2 separate regions of the Homo sapiens genome follow, and region 1 is linked to region 2. The links are contacts of gene promoters, found by promoter capture Hi-C in human tissues and cell types (Jung and others, 2019). All regions are on one chromosome and are shown on one strand. The core of a region is centred on a gene start or on the middle of the fragment in contact, and the rest is flanking DNA. Distances in the headings are between cores, read along the strand shown. Region 1 overlaps DLGAP2 (DLG associated protein 2). Region 2 holds the start of CLN8 (CLN8 transmembrane ER and ERGIC protein).

What was found. Contacts are between HindIII fragments. The study calls those that stand out against the background at their distance.
Region 1: a fragment that was not itself captured here is called in contact with the fragment with the promoter of CLN8 in region 2 in 1 of the 25 tissues and cell types used here (thymus).

Annotation. Positions count from the first base shown.
Region 1 is chr8:741,204-745,561 of GRCh38, forward strand. The region is part of intron 1 of DLGAP2 (DLG associated protein 2); the gene reads left to right. Among named protein-coding and RNA genes, the nearest start is that of DLGAP2, 5.8 kb to the left of the region's middle. The HindIII fragment of the contact is 7,091 bases long and covers 1-4,358 here.
Region 2 is chr8:1,762,177-1,766,322 of GRCh38, forward strand. It overlaps CLN8 (CLN8 transmembrane ER and ERGIC protein), which reads left to right and starts at 1,613. Exons shown (of 3, transcript NM_018941.4): 1 at 1,613-1,709. CLN8-AS1 (CLN8 antisense RNA 1) reads right to left here and starts at 2,408. Exons shown (of 2, transcript NR_134303.1): 1 at 2,258-2,408; 2 at 1-752. The HindIII fragment of the contact is 16,643 bases long and covers 1-4,146 here.

The sequences.
Region 1 (4,358 bases), core at 1,587-4,086, 1.0 Mb before region 2:
GTTAAGCAGATGGGCTTTGGCATTGACCAGGCATGGGGTCGTAGGGTGTGCAAACTCTAGTTTAAATCTTGCATCTACTGGTAGCCACCTTTCCCTTCCAAGGCTTAACAGCAGTAACAAATTAATCTCCTCAGCAAAGGCAGTAGGAGCTCATTTGTAAAGCTCTGTTTTTCTTTTTTCATGTCATTCTTCTGTGCACTGACTTCATCTGCCTATGAAAATCTTCTCCCAGTCCTCAGGTCATGGGCCTTGACATGCAGTCCCTTAACTTTAGCTCCAGGAGAGGGGCCTGGGTGTTCTGACATCCCGGTGATGGGTGTCCGCTGCAGGTGCACCTCTCCTGACTTGATGGCAGTGTCTTCATGTGGGATGTCAGTTGCCTTAGTTCTGGAAGTGTCCTGTCTGTATTTATTGGCGGGCCTTCAGGAGTTGAGCTTTCTAGACCCGTTACTGCAGACTCCAGTGTATTTGCAGTTCAGTGTACGCTTCCCTTTCCAGGCAGCAGCCAGCTCCCCTTAGGGAACACCTGCCACCTCATGGGGTTGGCTTGGCGGACCCTACTTCCCGTCAGAGGTGGCTCCTGACTGGCCGGAGCCCTAACTCCCTCTCAAGAGCAATTGGATGAGTGAAGAGCGGGAACTTTCAAGGAGAGGAAAGCTTTAGGAAAAACAGCGGGAAAGGTGTAAGGCCTGCAGTTGTGGCATCAGTGCACAGCCTTGCAGGGATGGCCTGTCTGGAAATGACACCTTCCTCATCTGTCTGTGGAGGAGAAGGGCGGCTGTTATGCAGAGAGCTTGGTCCTGAGGATGCTGTTGGAAGCTCTGAACTAAGTTATGCCTGAACCATCATTACCCCGTGACTTTCAGTTACATAAACCAGGAGATTGTTTCTTTGAACTGAGTTTTCTGTCCCTGACAAGCAAATGGGATGTATGGGCTTTTAGTTTCTTCAGACATTTCCACATTAAACCTCTTGTTGCAGGGAAAGGCTTATTCATCTTCGGGTACTGTTTCTTATATGGTACATCGTGTGTATCGGCAGGAAAAAAAGAGAAAAATTTAAATCAACCATTTTAAACAATGAATAAACATTTGGAAATAGCCCATCTGTAAACTTGTGTTAAAAATTTTTAAAGTAACCTGTGAATCTGACTGATCGTTGTCTTTAAAATGTTTCATACTCTGTACAAAAGAAGAAAAATGGGAATGATCTCAAGGGTCCATAGAGTATGTATTTTAAGTTAGGCGGTATTGAAAAACATCCTTTTGTGTGTAACGAATGTTTGTCCTGTGACTTTTGCACAGCATTGCAAGTGGCTTTTTAGAGACAGGGTCTCCCTCTGTCACCCAGGCGGGAGTGCACTGGCATGATCATAGCTAACTGCAGTCTTGACCTCCTGGGCACGAGTGATCCTCCCACCTCAGCCTGTCTAGTAGTTGGTGTATGTCACCGCACCCAACTAATTTTTACTTTTTTTTTTTTTGGTAGAGACGGAGGTCTTGCAGTGTTGCCCAGGCTGGCCTTAGATTCCTGTCCTTAAGGAATCCTCCTGCCCTGGCCTCCTCAAGTGCTGGGATTACAGGAGTGAGTCACTTTTCCCAGCTGCATTTGGCTCTTTATTTGACCTCACCGTATTTCAGTTTTCTCATCACTAAGAGTGGGGCCAATGCAATATTAACTTGATAGGGTTAAGGAGGATTAAATGAATTCATGACTGTAAAGTGATAAGAATGGTGCACGTAGGAAATGCTGGATTAGTCTTGACTATTTTTATCATGAAAAAATACAATTGAGGCCTACTTTGAGTCAGTCCACAATGGAAGTTATCAAGCAACTCTTTGATTTCTCTCAAAACTGTTTTATTTATTATTTCTGGTCTTGTTTTACTTTTTTGTATATCTCTTGCCACTTTCCAAAAAGTTTTGGACCCAACTTAACCACAGAAGGACAAGGGAAAAAATGCTAATTAGAAAATAGAAATAGAAAATCGGAAGAAACACATGTGATAACCATGAGGATGGATGTAATTCTCTGGGCATCACGTTTGACACTGAGCTTCCAGGGAGTCAAGTCAACAAAACCCAAAACTACAAAGCCATGTTCAACCTGAGGATCATGCTTTCAGGGTAGACGTTGCATACTCATTTTTTGGTGAAGATAAATTTTCTCTGGCACTAACTTGTAAGAGATGTTCTGAGGGTAGATCTTATATTCAGGGGCTGGGGTTGTGTAATATATAACAGTTAAAAATACAGAAGTATTTTTTAATGATTTTGTCTTGATTTGGTTTCTTTGAAATAAACCAAAAGCAAAACTCACATGCACAGCCTACCCTCAGCACTGATGACCTCTTCTTGGTATTTATTTACTTACTTATTTAGAGACGGTCTCACTCCTGTGTTTCAGGTTGGAGTGAGTGGCATAATCTCAGCTCACTGCAGCCTTGACCTCCTGGGCTCAAGCGATCTTCCCACCTCAGCCTCCCGAGTAGCTGGGACTACAGGCGTGCACCACCACACCCAGCTAATTTTTTGTATTTTTAGTAGAGATGGGGTTTCACCATGTTGTCCAGACTAGACTCTGACTCCTGGGCTCTAGCCATCAGCCTACCCCAGCCTCCCAAAATGTTGCGATTGTGGGCATGGGCCACTGCGCGATGCCTTTTGCTGGTATTTGCATGTGATTTCCGTGGCCGGGTCTTCATGTCTGGATCACTCACTAAGCTACTGTGGTTTAGGGCTGAAGACGTGGATTCACGTCGTGTGTCCTGCAGACAACAGCAGTTTCTCAAGTTTCACGTGCCTTCACGTTTCCTCTGAGTCTTTGCATCTAAATGCCCAGACACCTGTTTTAGCTGAAGGAAGTGACTTGTTCTGGTGGCCGTGGCAGTCTATGGATGGAGCCATCATCGTGGTTCTCTCAGACCCAGCGCCGCTTCCCTCTTCTGTCTCTCATCTTGTGCGTTGGGAAGAAGTGCTCGTTCGCTCAGCAAGCTTAGAGGCAGCGTCTCCTCTCCACATATACCCCCGACCCACGAGATTGGGTTGGGAAGGTTTCTCTGTGCTCTGACTGTTAGGGTGACACCTCTCACCACCTTGTAATTCCCACTTTCCTTGTCTTTGATGTATTGGAATAGCCACTCTGTGAGGAAGGGTCTTGATCACCCTTGAACCCTGGCCCTGGGTCGCATCTAATGATCTGAATGGGTGAAGGTGCAGAAGAGGGGCTGACGCCTCCTCGAGGTACAGATTCCCCAGCCCAACCTGCGTCCCTCCCTCTTCTCCGGCCACGTCGCCCTCCCGGGGTGCTGGCCGTCTGCTCCCCACGGTCACTCCCTGCCTCTTCTCCGGCCACGTCGCCCTCCCGGGGTGCTGGCCGTCTGCTCCCCACGGTCACTCCCTGCCTCTTCTCCGGCCACGTCGCCCTCCCGGGGTGCTGGCTGTCTGCTCCCCACGGTCACTCCCTGCCTCTTCTCCGGCCACGTCGCCCTCCCGGGGTGCTGGCTGTCTGCTTCCCACGGTCACTCCCTGTTCCCTGCCTGGGCTGTGCCCCAGCAACACTCTGGCTTCACCCACACTGGACGGTGCTTTTCATTCCGTCCTTTCCTCATGTCTGTTCTCTCAAACCTAGTTGGAATGCTGCTTCCCCGGCCCCGATGCCTGAGTGAGGTCATGCTCCCAGCCTCCGAATTCCTCGCTTGGACTGGGTCCCGGCTTCCCCATCCCCCAGTCTGTCCGCATGCTGTCCTCAGTGCAGCAGAGATGGCGGGAAGGGGTAGCCCAGGCCATCCCCACACCTGCCGCAGGGTTTTAGGCCATGTCACTGGATAAACAGTTGCATGAACTCGTAAATACACACCGTGAATGCCTCGTTACGCCACCGTCCCTTCTCCCGCTGCTTCCGAGTTGTGGGTGCTGGAGACAAGCACAGCGGCAGGTTCTTTACCTTTTTTCTTGGTCTTTAATATGAAACCTTTAGCTCTTTAAAAATAATTTCCATTTTGTAACATTCTTTGTAATATTTTGACATTCTGAGCAAATTTCCGAACATCTGTTTTCTGGCTATACTATATATAATTTAGAAATTTGCATAAACAATTGAGAATTGTAGTTTCAACCTTTTGTTGTGGCCATTTCAGAATGAAGCACTACTGGGTCTGAAACAAAATGTTCTAGGTTGTCACTATAATTAGATTCAAAGTTTTATTTTTGTTGGTGAAACTTGAGTTCCGTAGTTCTTTAAAGCAACCAAACAGTATTTCTCAGTCTTCAATTTATCCAGCTACTTGCTTCTCTAATGATATTTTCTCAAGAGTCGCAGCACTCAATTTTAAAAAAACTCTTCTTTACATGTAACTA
Region 2 (4,146 bases), core at 363-2,862:
TTTATTTTATTTTATTTTTATTTTTTTGAGACAGAGTTTCATTCTTGTTGCCCAGGCTAGAGTGCCATGGCGTGATCTCAGCTCACTGCAACCTCTGCCTCCTGGGTTCAAGCAATTCTGCTTCAGCCTCCTGAGTAGCTGAGATTACAGGTGCCCACCACCACACCCGGCTAATTTTTTTCTCCCAAACTGCTGGGATTACAGGCTTGAGCCACCGCGCCCGCCAAGATGGGTTGTTGATTTTAAAACGATGTCACCCTGGCTCTCCTAGGTTCCTGTTCCCCTAACATCATGAAGGCTGCTGGCAGTTCTCTGGCCTCCAGGGAGGCCTCCACACACATTTACCCATGTTCTTAGACAATCCTAGGGACTCAAGGCTTCAACAAACCTAAATGAGCCAGCAGAAAAATAAACTTGAACATGAATGTCAACGTTTTCCCACATGTACTAAAGGGTTATAATAATTTTGAAATGTTTATTTCAAAGAGCGTTGGTAATTTAAACGTCCTATTTAATCCCCAAAACAGTCCTGAGGGGGAGATAAGGCAGTTATCTTCATAGTACAGGAAAGGAAAAAAGCGAGGGTCCAAGGCCGACTATACCCTCAGCTCCATTAGCCCCCGAGGCCTCCCTGACAGGCGGGGCGGACAATCCCAGTGCAGATGCTCTGTATCGATCGCATGCTATCGGTTCTTTCAAGGAACGTGTATTGATCATCAATTAAGTGGTGAGTACTCCTCTAGATGTCGATTCTAAAGAGGGAACAAAACACATTAGACAGAAGAAACATAAGTAACTCGAATAACAACCTTAGAGAGAAGAAACATAAGTAACTCGAATAACAACCTTAGCAAACTGCGGAAACTCCTACAGACAAAAACTCAGGTGTGGGCGCAGAAGGGCCGGGGATGCGCTCGGTCAAGACTTGAAGGTCCGGGGCTTGGGCCCTGTGTCCTCACCGAGCCCCGGGGAGGCTCCGGCTCCGTCCACACCCGGAGCGCGACTCAGCCGCGGCCGGGGCTCTTCTGGAGAACGGCGCGGTCAGGCTCTGCCGCAGCTTTCAGGTCCCCTCGGCCCCGTCCGGGTGCAGCGCAACCAGGCTGCCCGCGGAGCCCCACCGCCCCCATGCCGCCGCCCGCCATGGTTCAGCCCGGCCCCGCCCCTCCCGCCGGCCGTGGTTCAGCGCGTCCACCCCGCCGCCCCACAGCGCCCGCCGCGCCGCGCCCCGCCCCCCGCCGCGCCCCGCCCCCCGCCGCGCCCCGCCCCCCGCCGCGCCCCGCCCCCCGCCGCGCCCCGCCCCCCGCCGCGCCCCGCCCCCCGCCGCGCCCCGCCCCCCGCCGCGCCCCGCCCCCCGCCGCGCCCCGCCCCCCGCCGCGCCCCGCCCCCCGCCGCGCCCCGCCCCCCGCCGCGCCCCGCCCCCCGCCGCGCCCCGCCCCCCGCGCCGCGCCCCGCCCCCCGCCGCGCCCCTCCCGCGCCCGCCGCCCCGCCCCTCCCGCGCCCGCCGCCGTCGTAGCGCCTAGGCGGGGCCTCTCGTAGCGACGCCCCCAGGGGGGCAGAACGCGTGCGCACGCGCGTGCGAACGCGCGTGCGCGGGCGGTGTTTGAGGCCGGCCAGTCGTGACTGGGCGGCAATGAGGTCAGTGACTGCCGGGAGTCCTGCAGGGGCGGGGCGGCGCCAAGCGCAGGGAGCCCGGCTGAGTGGCAGCCCAGGTGAGCGCTCAGGGAGCCCGGGTGAGGGCCGGGAACCCAGGTGAGGGGCAGCCCAGGTGAGCGCGCGGGGTGCCCGGGTTAGGGGCCGGGAACCCAGGTGAGGGGCAGCCCAGGTGAGCGCGCGTGGAGCCCAGGCGAGGGGGCTGGGAAGCCCGGGTGAGGGGACCGGGGATCCCAGGTGAGGGGCCGGGAACTCAGCTGAGGGGGAACCCAGATGGGCGCGCGGGAGCCCACGTGAGGGGGAGCCCGGGTGAGGGGCCGGGGTGGCTCCTGGCGTCCGCGGTCCCAGCCCTGCCTTCCGGTGGGCGTGCGGCACCCCGGGCCGTGCGGTTCCCGGACAGCAGCTTGTGGGGGACTTTCGAGCCCCGCAGCCCGGGGTCCTGCCTGCGCGGGTTGGGCGTGGGGGGCTCCTCACCGCGACGCTGACTTTGGAGTCCTTGAGCGGCGCGGATGCCGGACGGAGGGAGGGGACAGGCGGAGGCGGAGGCGGCGCCGTCGCCCCTGACCTCGCTTCCCTCAGACCGGCTGGGCAAGTACGGTCAGCTCACCTGTGTGCCCACGAGGCGGGGAGGCGGCTCCTGCAGAGCCACAGAGGTGCCGTCGGAGCTGCTGTCAAGGACAGCAGGTGTCACGTGGGTGTGGCCTCCACTGGTCACCGAGTTAGCTGGGGCGGAAGGGGACAAGGTGCAGCTCAACATGGTGTGGGAGGCGGAGGGACGCTGGGTCAGTCAGAACCTGTAGGAGCGGGGAGGGACGCTGGGTAAGGTCACCAAAGTGTGCGGGGGAGAGAGCGGGCGCTGGGTCAGGTCAGCAGGAGGTGGGACCCGCCTGGGCTCTGGGCCCTATAGCCAGCTGCTCTAGGTTGGGGTTGGGTGTGGACAGTAGGGAGGGGAGCCAGGGGCTCCCCAGCCTGTGTAGATTCTGCTGTAAGTGACTCTTCTCTGAAAGACTGGCGCGAGGCGGCTGCTTCTGACTCCTGTTTCAGTTTACCCTCTGTGTGAAATCTGTAACTATCCAGCTTCTGCTTACCTCACTCCCGTATTTTGATTTTTATTTACATACAACTTTTCAGGAAGGTTGTGAGAGGAAAGAGCAATGGTGCAGGAAGTGTGAGTGATTGAGGGAATATGAGATGGCCACAGCTCCCCACTGAGCTTGAACACTTCTGTGCCTCACTTTCAGATTGGCCGTCATGGAGGCTGTGGTTGTTAAGGAAGTTCTTCCTGAGCATCCAGTTTCCATACAAAGAGCACAGGTTCTCTAGGTGGCCTCAGAGATGTTCAATACACAATGTCTTCTGATAACGAGGAACTGGGCAAAAGCCTGGTAGGACACCGGGTAGGTAAATGGTGGAGTCCCTGCAACCGTGTTGCAGAGGAGGATTAGCTGTTGCTGAGAGAAGAGAAGCAGGCCGGGGAGCAGCTTGTATACTGTTATCCCCTTTTATGTAAAAAGAAGAGTTTATATCTAGAAAAACAATTGACCCAGCAGGCACCAAAAAATAGTGATGGTGCTTGGAGCTGTGTAAGAGGATTGTAAATTTTTATTTTTGTATTTTTATGCTTGTTTATATTTTCTGAATTTTGTGTATTAAACATGTATTTCTGTTGATTTTGGAAAACATTTTTACAACCCATCAATGTATAATTTTCAAAATGTTAGAAGTATAATTCTCATGTAAATAGCTCTTGTCAGGTTATATTTCAGTCATTAATGCAGTATACAGCAGGATAGGAATGTCAGTTCAAAAGAGAATACACAAAACTAGGATTTTCTTAGTGAGTGGGTAACAGGAATGCTGAGAGAAGATTGCCAGATTAGATAATAAGATTGGTGAATATCCTGTGTGCATTGAAACCACAGCCTTTGGGATTGTCTTTTCTTCTTGATGGAAAGGAGAATTAGCTTTGCAGATTGTAAAATGCGTGACCCACAATCAGTGGTAAATAGTTTAGTTATTTCTCCTAGAAAGTCAAGTGATTGTTGGGGTTGTAAAACACTGAACTTGCGTTAGCAGGGAAAAAAGCATGCAACCTTTTTTTTCCCTTTTGACGTCACTTCCAAGTTTGGATAAATTATCTCAATGAAAAACAAAAATGCTGGTATCCATAGCAGTTTAGCCCCCATAAACCGGAGGAGCGCATAGATGCATGACAGAGTCGAAGGGTTCCAGTGGCCACTGAGCCTGGTTCCTGGTCACACTGCAGCAACAGAGCTAACACTCTTACTGATGTGTTTGCATTCAGATTTTTAAAAAACTTCATGGCCCAGTGCAATAGAAGAGCTGAAACCACAGAATCTTATAAGACAAGCTTTTTGTATACATTTTCTCCAAAGAAAATGAAGATCTGCAGCGTCAAGAGATGGTGGCCTTCCAGGAGTTGTTTATTCTCCGGCTCCACTTCCTCTACTGCAGAGAGGAAAGGGGCTGGTGTGG